Linked DNA regions of Homo sapiens: region 2 is linked to region 1. The links are contacts of gene promoters, found by promoter capture Hi-C in blood cells and fetal thymus (Javierre and others, 2016). All regions are on one chromosome and are shown on one strand. The core of a region is centred on a gene start or on the middle of the fragment in contact, and the rest is flanking DNA. Distances in the headings are between cores, read along the strand shown.

Region 1 (4,340 bases), core at 1,045-3,544:
CCCTAGTTTCCTCCTGTGGTTTCTCCTAGTTTCTGCCTGTGGTCCCCTAGTTTCCTCCTTCACTGTGTGGGGACAGAGCTTCTCACCGGGAACCTTGCCCTCTTGCCCTTCCCTGTCTCACAGACCTCTGTTTTCTTAGCCCTTTGTCCCCATCTCCACTGCAGCGCCTATCAGATCACACTAAAACGACCGTTATTTACCAGCTGCGGAGTTGGAGGCGAGGACTGAGCTAGATACCATACACAGATTCCCGCTTTTTTAACCATTAAATCACCCTCTTTTACAAATGTTACTATCTCTATTTTACAGACAAGAAATCGAGACATGAAGATTAACTAACCTGCCCCAATTTAAACAGCTAACATAACACATGGGCCGCCCAACGTCCCTTACTCCAAAGCACATGCTCATTCCACTAGGGTATTAGGCTATGTGTTAATGTAACGGCAGGCAATCTGAAGGGCTCCACTATGTACGTGCCGAACAGAATTAAAGGGGGGGTCCCACACTGTCCGCTTCCGATGAAGAAAAAGACGCAGAAAAGAAACCGCCACACGTGGAGAATCAGTAGGTGCAAGCCAAGGACAGTTTGCGGTAAACTGCCACCCCGGAAGCCAGCACCCACCATCCTGGTCTCCCGGAGTTTGGGTGACCCCTGGCACTGTTACTTCTGCATAAAAGTAGTGGATTTAACCCCTACAGAGGCAGCGCCCCGTATCCTCTGAAGCTGTCTCCAGCCACCTAAAGAGACGTCTTCATTATGGCTCAACTCATTTGGGCTGTAAATTGCTGAAGCGAAGGGCTTTTTCTTCTGCATCCCTTTCAAGTTCCGTCGGCAGGGACTACAATAAATCATCACATTATGACGCTGAAAGTTCATCTCTAAAAAGCTTTCAATTTAGTTTGATGAGACTAATGGCGTCCAATCGCACAGTGCCGGGCACATAACGGGAAGTCCAAAAATACAGTTATTATTGGAATAAAAATTCAGGCTGGGCGCAGTGGCTCACGCCTGTAATCCGAGAACTTTGGGAGGCCGAGGCGGGCGGATCATTTGAGACCAGATGTTCGAGACCAGCCTGGGCAACATGGCGAAACCCCGTCTCTACTAAAAATACAAAAATTAGTCGGCGTGGTGGCGGACGCCTGTAGTCCCGGCTACAGAGAGCCAAGATCGCACCACCGCACTGCAGCCTGGGCGACAGAGCAAGACCCTGTCTCAAAAAAAAAAAAAAAAGAAAAAAAAATCAGCCAAGACTTGGAAAAAGAAATTTAAAAAAGGAAAATTCATGCAGCCAGTAACTATTGGGACATCACTCACCAGGCACTATGCTAAACTGGGGTTAGGTGCTGAGCAAAACCAGGCCCCTCTCTAGATGGCTCTCTAGGTCCCACGACCATAGCTTAGGTGACACCGGCACCTGCGCGCTCCACAGCCTGTCGAAAAACACTCGGGAAGCAAACATTGAGAAGAAAATACTCCTTCTGTGGGCCTTTAGGAAAACCGAGTGACTTTTTTCGTGAGGGGAACCCATCTTTGTAAGCATTCGCGGAAACGGCAGTTTTATTACCGCCGGGAAGGGTCCCCTGAGTGTGTGCCCCATCTGAGTTCCGAGCTGGGCGGGCCATGCCTTGCCAACCCCGCTGCTCGCAGCATCTGCAGGCGCTGAGCGAGGCATCGCTGCCTGGCCGGGGCTTCTCGGATCTGGGGAAATCGAGGTCGCTTTCCCCGGCTCTCTGCAGCGGGGCAGCGCTGTCCACTCACTCCCCGCTCCCCGCGCACGCCCTTGCCCTCTTTCCCCCAAGTAGGGAAGGGTCTACGCGGGTCATAGCAGAGAGGCCACGCCGCCCGTGGTGACGGCCGGTCCCGGGGAGGGGGCGCCGCCACTGCCATCCCGCAGCCTGCGCTCCCCACACCCCGCCGCAGGCGCAGCGGACTGGTGGAGTGATGTCGGGAGATCGATCGAGAAGAATCTGGAAGAATCCGGTTAGACAGGGAAGCGGGCGGGGATGGGAGGGAGGGAGGAAGGGCCAAGGGAGGCCGCCGGGGAGATCCCGAGTCCGAGGGTCCCAGGAGAAGGGGGAGGGGGCAGGCAGCCAGAAGGAGGCAAGAACCAAAAAAAAAAAAAGAAAAAAAAATTCCGAAGCGCCCGCAGCACTGAGCCCGAACCGGCTCAGTCCCGCCGTCTCTAGAAAGTTCTGCACCCCGCCCCCTCTGTCTGCGCTCCCGCTCCTCCCAGCCCCTCCCTCGCGGCGGGGCGGGACCAATCGCTCCCCGAGCCGCTCCTGACCCACCTACCCCAGCTCTCGCGCCGCGTGCAGAGGTGCTCAAGCCTCCTCGCGGTCCGCAGTCAGTGCCGCCGCGCCCGGCCTCCCGCACGCCCCGCAGGTAGCGCCCCCGCCCGCGGCCCAGAGTGCGCTCGCGCCGGCACCAGCTCCCGGATAAACGGCGCGCCGCGCGGAGATGACAGCCGAGGAGATGAAGGCGACCGAGAGCGGGGCGCAGTCGGCGCCGCTGCCCATGGAGGGAGTGGACATCAGCCCCAAACAGGACGAAGGCGTGCTGAAGGTGAGGGGCGGCGGGGCCTGCGGAGGCGTCGGAACCCGGGGCCCCGCGGGCCGCCCTTCCGCCGCGCCCGGAGCCCGCGGCCGGGCACGGGTCGAGGCGGCCGCCTTTGCAGCCTCGCGGCCGTCCCGCCGGGGGCCGGTGGCATCGCCGTCCCGGACCGGGCTGCGTCGTTTAAGGCACCGAGGCCGGCCATGCGCTCGGCAGGGGGGCGGCCTAGGTGCGCGGGCCGAGGCCCCAGGCTCCCCAGCCGGCAGCGCCCGGGCCCGGGCAGGGGGTCGGGATTGCAGTGCCCACCCCGGCGCGCGCGGGGCGGCGGAGAGGGGCGGGGCGAGGCGACCGCCGCGGGCACCCGAGCCGCAGCCCGGGGCCAGGCCGGGCCTCCCACGCCACGCCGCCCCCGACCTCGCGGCCCCAGCGGAGCTGCCAGCCGCGGGCCGCCTCGTTGGTGGCGGTGCCAGGGCTCGCCCACCCGGGCGGTGGAACACGGGCCAGGACGGGGAGCGACTCCCCACAGTGCTTTCCTGGCCCTTCGGCCTTTGTGCGACGCAGGCGCGACAGGGTTCCGGCGCCCTCCCGGGGTCCCCTGCCGACGCCGGGACCCAGCGAGGTCCCCACTCGCCGCGCGGCGCCCCCTCCCTCGGCCCCGGGGAGGCCGGGCGCGGGGCATGCCGGGAGCTGTAGTCCCCTCCCCCCTCCGCCGCCTCCCGGAGCCAGGGCTGCGGGGTGTGGGGCGGGGAGGAGGCGCTCTGCTGTGGAGCCTGCCGCCGAGTGACCGCTCGACTACAAATAGCCTGGGGAGCTGCGGGGAGGGCATCTTGACCTGGGCCAGGACAACCTGCCTTGGGTCGGAGCAGGTTCCAGGGAGAATCAGAGATGGTGAATTCCCAGCCTGCGTCTTATGCCTTCTCCCCATCCGCTGCTGCGTCCTCATCCTGGCTTCCCACCGCTGAGCTCCGCGTGTGCGGCACCCACCTCAGGGGGCCTTTACCTGGTCCAGAAGTGCATCTGTCTTTGCACCAGATTATTGGGGACCTCAAGCGTCTGCTCCAGCGGCTCTCCTGTGGCATGTGACTTCCCCTTCTCGCTCCAGCGTCCTGCCGTTTTCTACGAGATTGTTATTCCAGGAAAGCTCATTTCCCCTTTGATCCATCATTCCTTCCCTTTTACCTTTCTACTCCTCAAAGCCCCTGTCTATTCTTCGTGGAAGCTTTCCCTTGGAGGGTAACCACACACCTACCAGGTGGCGCTAAAGAAGCCTTTACGTTTCTGGGAAATACTCCAGCCCTGGACTAACTACCAGAGGAATACTCAGCTCCCAAGTCAGAGTTTAAGGTCCCATGGAGAGCCTCCGGGTTCACCTATAACCTGGTTTCTTCCTTACCTGTTTTGAACTGTTTCTATTCTCTTCACTCATACTCCTCTCGCTCTCCTGTCTCCAAACCAGACCTTAGTCTGACGACCACTGGCATGAAGGAAGAAGGAGGAAGTGTGGCATAAATACTTCCCCCTTTGCCGATTATAATAATAATCTATTATTCAACCTTTTACTGGTCTAATCTTCCAACAACTGTAGGAGATAGGGATTATCATCACTGCTTTACAAATAAAGTGTGGAGAATTTTAAAAACTTACCATACAGCGGAAACTTGAACTCAGATCTCTCAGCCTTTTGTCTCCTTTTTCAAACCAAGTCTTGCTGCACCTCAAGAAAGACAAGAAGGTTAGTTGACTCATAAGCCAAGCTGCTAGTAACTGAATCTGGAGGGACAAG
Region 2 (4,340 bases), core at 709-3,208, about 120 Mb after region 1:
TCTCTACAAAAAATACAAAAACTAGCCAGGTGTGATGGCATGCACCTATAATCCCAGCTACACAGGAGGCTGAGGCACGAGAACTGCTTGAACCCGGGAGGTGGAGGTTGCAGTGAGCAGAGATCACGCCACTGCACTCCAGCCTAGGCGACAGAGCAAGGCTCCATCTCAAATAAATAAATAAATAAAAGAAGGTAATCTGAGTCATGTTCTTATGAGATTCCTCTGGCCCCTGAGAAAGGCAGGGATACATGGAAATGTCCTGTTCTGATGTGAGAAACAACTTTCCCCAAATCTCTGGGTCTGAGAGACCTCAGCCCCTCTGCTCAGGTGGTCCAGTTCCAAGTGTCAGCCCAGTGTCTACGGCTGTCTTTGAGGTGCCATCCTGAATTGTCACTGCCATCATAACGGTTGTCACCTGTCCTGGGACACACCCCACCTCTGTAACCTTTCTTTACTTTTCAAAGCAACATATTTTCCCAAATTACCATCTCCAAAACTCTGATAGGAGGTAAGACGGCTACTACAGGTTAAATATCCCTTTCCAGAAATGCTAGGAACCAGACCTGTTTTAGCTTTAGGAACATCTGTATTCTATTCACTGGTTGAGCATCCCTAATCTAAAAATTTGAAATCTGGAATGCTCCAATGAGCATTTCCTTAAGTGTCATGTTGACACTCAAAAACTTTTGAATTTTGGAGTATTTTGGATTAAGGCTGCTCAACGTGTGCTACTGGTCCCATTCTGCAGATGTGAAAACGAAGGCACAGAGATGTTAGGGGATCTGCCTCAACTCCCAGCCTGTCTGTGGAACTTTTTTTTTTTTTTTTTTTTTTTTGAGATGGAGTCTCGCTCTCTCACCCAGGCTAGAGTACAGTGGTGCGATCTTGGCTCACTGCAACCTCCGTATCCTGGGTTCAAGCCATTCTCCTGCCTCAGCCTCCCAAGTAGCTGGGACTACAGGTGCCCACCACCACGCCTCCTCTGCTCTAAATGCTCCCATGGCTGCCCTCTCCCGTAGAGAAAAAGCCCCAGTCCTCGCCAAGACTGCAGTCCAGGCCCGACCTGCCCTGGCCCCCTGTTTTTTCTCTCATCTCCAGGCAGCCACTCAGGTCTCCTTCAGATCTTGACTCTAACAGAGTGATGTCTTCTCCAGCAACTCTATGGGATGCTGCAACCCACCCAATGGCCTCTTCTGTTTTATCTGCTCACTATAGCCGCATAAATTTCTATATGTTTATTCTTTGCCTGTCTCCTCCTATACAGCAGGTAAACTCAGGGATTTTCTAAAAATCTCCCTTTCTGCTATGTCTCCAGTGCCTAGAATAGTGCCTGGCATGTAATAAGGGCTACTCCTAAAAAGGGGTCTGAGAGAAATGTCAGCCAGCCTGGAGCTGAGCAGACAAGACTGGGCTGAAAATACACATTTGGGGGTCGCTGGAGATTATAAAGAGATTATAATCGAAGTCATGGGAAGGGATGGAACTACTCCTGTTTTTTTTGCCAAATTCTCCATGTTACTATTTGAGGGCGAGAGAAATCCCGGGTATTCCATATACACTGTTAAAACTAGGCTGTCACTAAGCCCCTCTCCTTTGGATCATCTGGAATGGGGGGACCCATTCCCCCATTCCAGATGATCCATCCCACCCCTCTGGGATCCCCACCCGAGAGTCCTGAAGGCAGGGCACAGGCCGCCCTGGGAAATCTCCGAAATCCAGCCCCGGTCCGGGGATGTCTTACCCTCCAGTTCCAGCTGCACGGGGGGCGGCTCGGGGGGGCCCTTCGAGGGTCCGGGGCCCGCCTGCTGGCGCCCCTTGATGTTGTAGCGCCGGCGCAGCTTCCCCATGGCGACTAGGCCAGGGTGGGCGCTCCAGCGGCCGGACCAGCAGAGCAATCCGAAACCCAGCCCACGTGGGTTCCCAGACCACCAACTCCGGCCGTGAGACTTCCGGGTTGTGTTATCGCGAGAACTGTAACTGACTTTGCCGCTGAGGGGCGGGGTTGCAAGAGAAACCCAGCGAAGAGGAGAGGCGGAGCCGGGCCGGGCAGGGGGCGGGACTATTTAGAGAAGTAGGCGGGGCCTGAGGTCCCAGCGGAGGCCGGAGTTTAAGTCCTGGGCTGTTCTCGCTTGGGGTAGTCTGGGTTTAAATATGAATTATATCTACTGATACTAATTTGGCTTCTTGGGAGTGGAAGTGTTTTGCCACCTTTTAAAATATACCCCGCCCCCAGTACTCCAAACTTCTTCCCCCCAACCCTGGTTTGCGCATCTGTATTTTCTGATATTCCTACAAGAAACGTATTAGTCGTGTACTTTTAAAAAGGCACCAAATATTTCCATCACAGGGATAGATGGAAGATCTAAAAGGAGGCCTCTACGGGCGCGGTGGCTCACGCCTGTAATCCCAGCACTTTTGGAGGCCGAGGCGGGCGGATCACGAGGTCAGGATTTCAAGACCAGCCTGGCCAAGATGGTGAAACCCCCGTCTCTACCAAAAATACAAAAAAAATTTAGCTAGGCCTGGTGGCAGGCGTCTGTAATCCCAGCTACTTGGGAGGCTGAGGCAGAGAATTGATTGAACCCGGGAGGTGGACGTTGCAGTGAGCCGAGACTGCACCACTGCACTTCAGCCTGGGCAACAGAGCTAGACTCTGTCTCAAAAAAAAAAAAATAAAGTTGTCTATTACATAACTTTAAATTCCCATTACCGCATCACATTGTAACACACTGGGAAACAATGCATTATTATTATTATTGAGACAAGGTCTGGCTTTGTTGCCCAGGCTGGAGTGTAGTGGAGCAATCTCGGCTCACTGCAACCTCTGCCTCCCGGGTTTAAACGATTCTCCTGCCTCAGCCTTCCGAGTAGCTGGGACTACAGGTGCCCGCCACCACCCCCAGCTAGTTTTTGTATTTTAGTAGAGACGGAGTTTCACCATGTTGGCCAGGCTGGTCTCAAACTCCTGACCTCGTGATCTGCCTGCCTGGGCCTCCCAAAGTGCTGGGATTACAGGCATGAGCCACCGCGCCCGACTTTTTTTTTTTTTTTTTTAAGAGATGAGATCTCGCCCTGTGGGCCAGGCCAGAGTGCAGTGGTGCAATCACCACTCGCTGCAGCCTTGACCTGTCCTCCCACCTCAGCCTCCTGAGTAGTTATGACTACAGGCACACACCACCACGACGGGCTAATTTTTCTATTTTTTTGTAGAGATGGTGTCTCCCTATGTTGCTTAGACTGGTCTCAAAATTCTGGGCTCAAGGGATCCGTTTGTCTCGGCCTCCCAAAGTGCCGGAATTACAGGCATAAGCCACTGTGAAGGCCTTAATGAATGACGTTTAAAAAAATCATAATTAGCGTATCAAATCTATGGGGTTTTTTGTTTGTTTGCTTGTTTTTGTTTTTTTGAGACAGAACTCTCCCTCTGACGCCCAGGCTGGAGTGTAGTGGAGCAGTCTCGGCTCACTGCAACCTCCACCTCTCGGGTTCAAGCGATTCTCCTGTCTCAGCCTTCCAAGTAGCTGGGATTACAGGCACCCACCAAGATGCCCATCTAATTTTTGTATTTTTAGTAGAGATGGGGTCTCACCATGTTGGCCAGGATGGTCTCAAACTCCTGACATCAAGTGATCGGCCCACCTTGGCCTCTCAAAATGATGAGATTACGGGCCTGAGCCACTGCACCCAGGCTCAAATCTGTGTTTTTATGGATTTTGTTGCTCAGGATGATAGTGATCTAAAGTTTCTTCTTTAAATATGTTTATTTAAATAAATTAAAAGTTTAAGAAACGTTTAAAAAATGTTAAGTAGGTAGTAGTACACTTGCCTATATTTCCTTCTAAAATATAATATATCAGTGAATTACCTTCCAGAAGGTATAGACCATTCTAGACAGCAAGAAGAAGGCAGATACATAACAGCATGGATGGATCTCACAAATATAAAGTTGAACAAAAGCTGGGCGTGGTGGCTCACGCCTGTAATTCCAGCACTTTGGGAGGCCAAGGCAGGCGGATCACCTGAGGTCAGGAGTTTGAGACCAGCCTGGCCAACATGGCGAAACCTGTCTCCACTAAAAATACAAACATTAGCCGGGTGTGGTGGCGCGTGCCTATAGTCCCAGCTACACGGAAGGCTGAGGCAGGAGAATCGCTTGAACCCCGGAGGCGGAGGTTGCAGTGAGCCGAGATCATGCCACTGCACTCCAGCCTGGGCAACAGAGCAAGACTCCGTCTCAAAAAATAAAAAATAAATAAAAAAAAAAGTTGAACAAAAGAAGCCAACCCCCAGAGTACTGTGTGGTTCATTTACATAAACTTCAAACACAGGCAAATGAA

What was found. The method cuts DNA at HindIII sites, captures the fragments that hold promoters and counts their contacts. A CHiCAGO score of 5 or more calls a contact.
Region 2: the fragment with the promoter of DHX37 here is called in contact with the fragment with the promoter of FKBP4 in region 1 in 1 of 17 cell types (total CD4 T cells); the score reaches 8.1 in total CD4 T cells.

The regions. Positions count from the first base shown.
Region 1 is chr12:2,792,676-2,797,015 of GRCh38, forward strand. It overlaps FKBP4 (FKBP prolyl isomerase 4), which reads left to right and starts at 2,295. Exons shown (of 10, transcript NM_002014.4): 1 at 2,295-2,569. The coding sequence starts at 2,465. ITFG2-AS1 (ITFG2 antisense RNA 1) reads right to left here. Exons shown (of 4, transcript NR_146317.1): 2 at 4,202-4,271. RefSeq lists enhancers at 1,174-1,719, 1,720-2,264, 3,758-4,340 and silencers at 2,114-2,493, 2,524-2,583, 2,934-3,343. The HindIII fragment of the contact is 2,886 bases long and covers 889-3,774 here.
Region 2 is chr12:124,987,173-124,991,512 of GRCh38, forward strand. DHX37 (DEAH-box helicase 37) reads right to left here and starts at 1,959. Exons shown (of 27, transcript NM_032656.4): 1 at 1,745-1,959. The coding sequence starts at 1,850. RefSeq lists an enhancer at 1-422 and a silencer at 1,663-1,872. The HindIII fragment of the contact is 16,586 bases long and covers 1-4,340 here.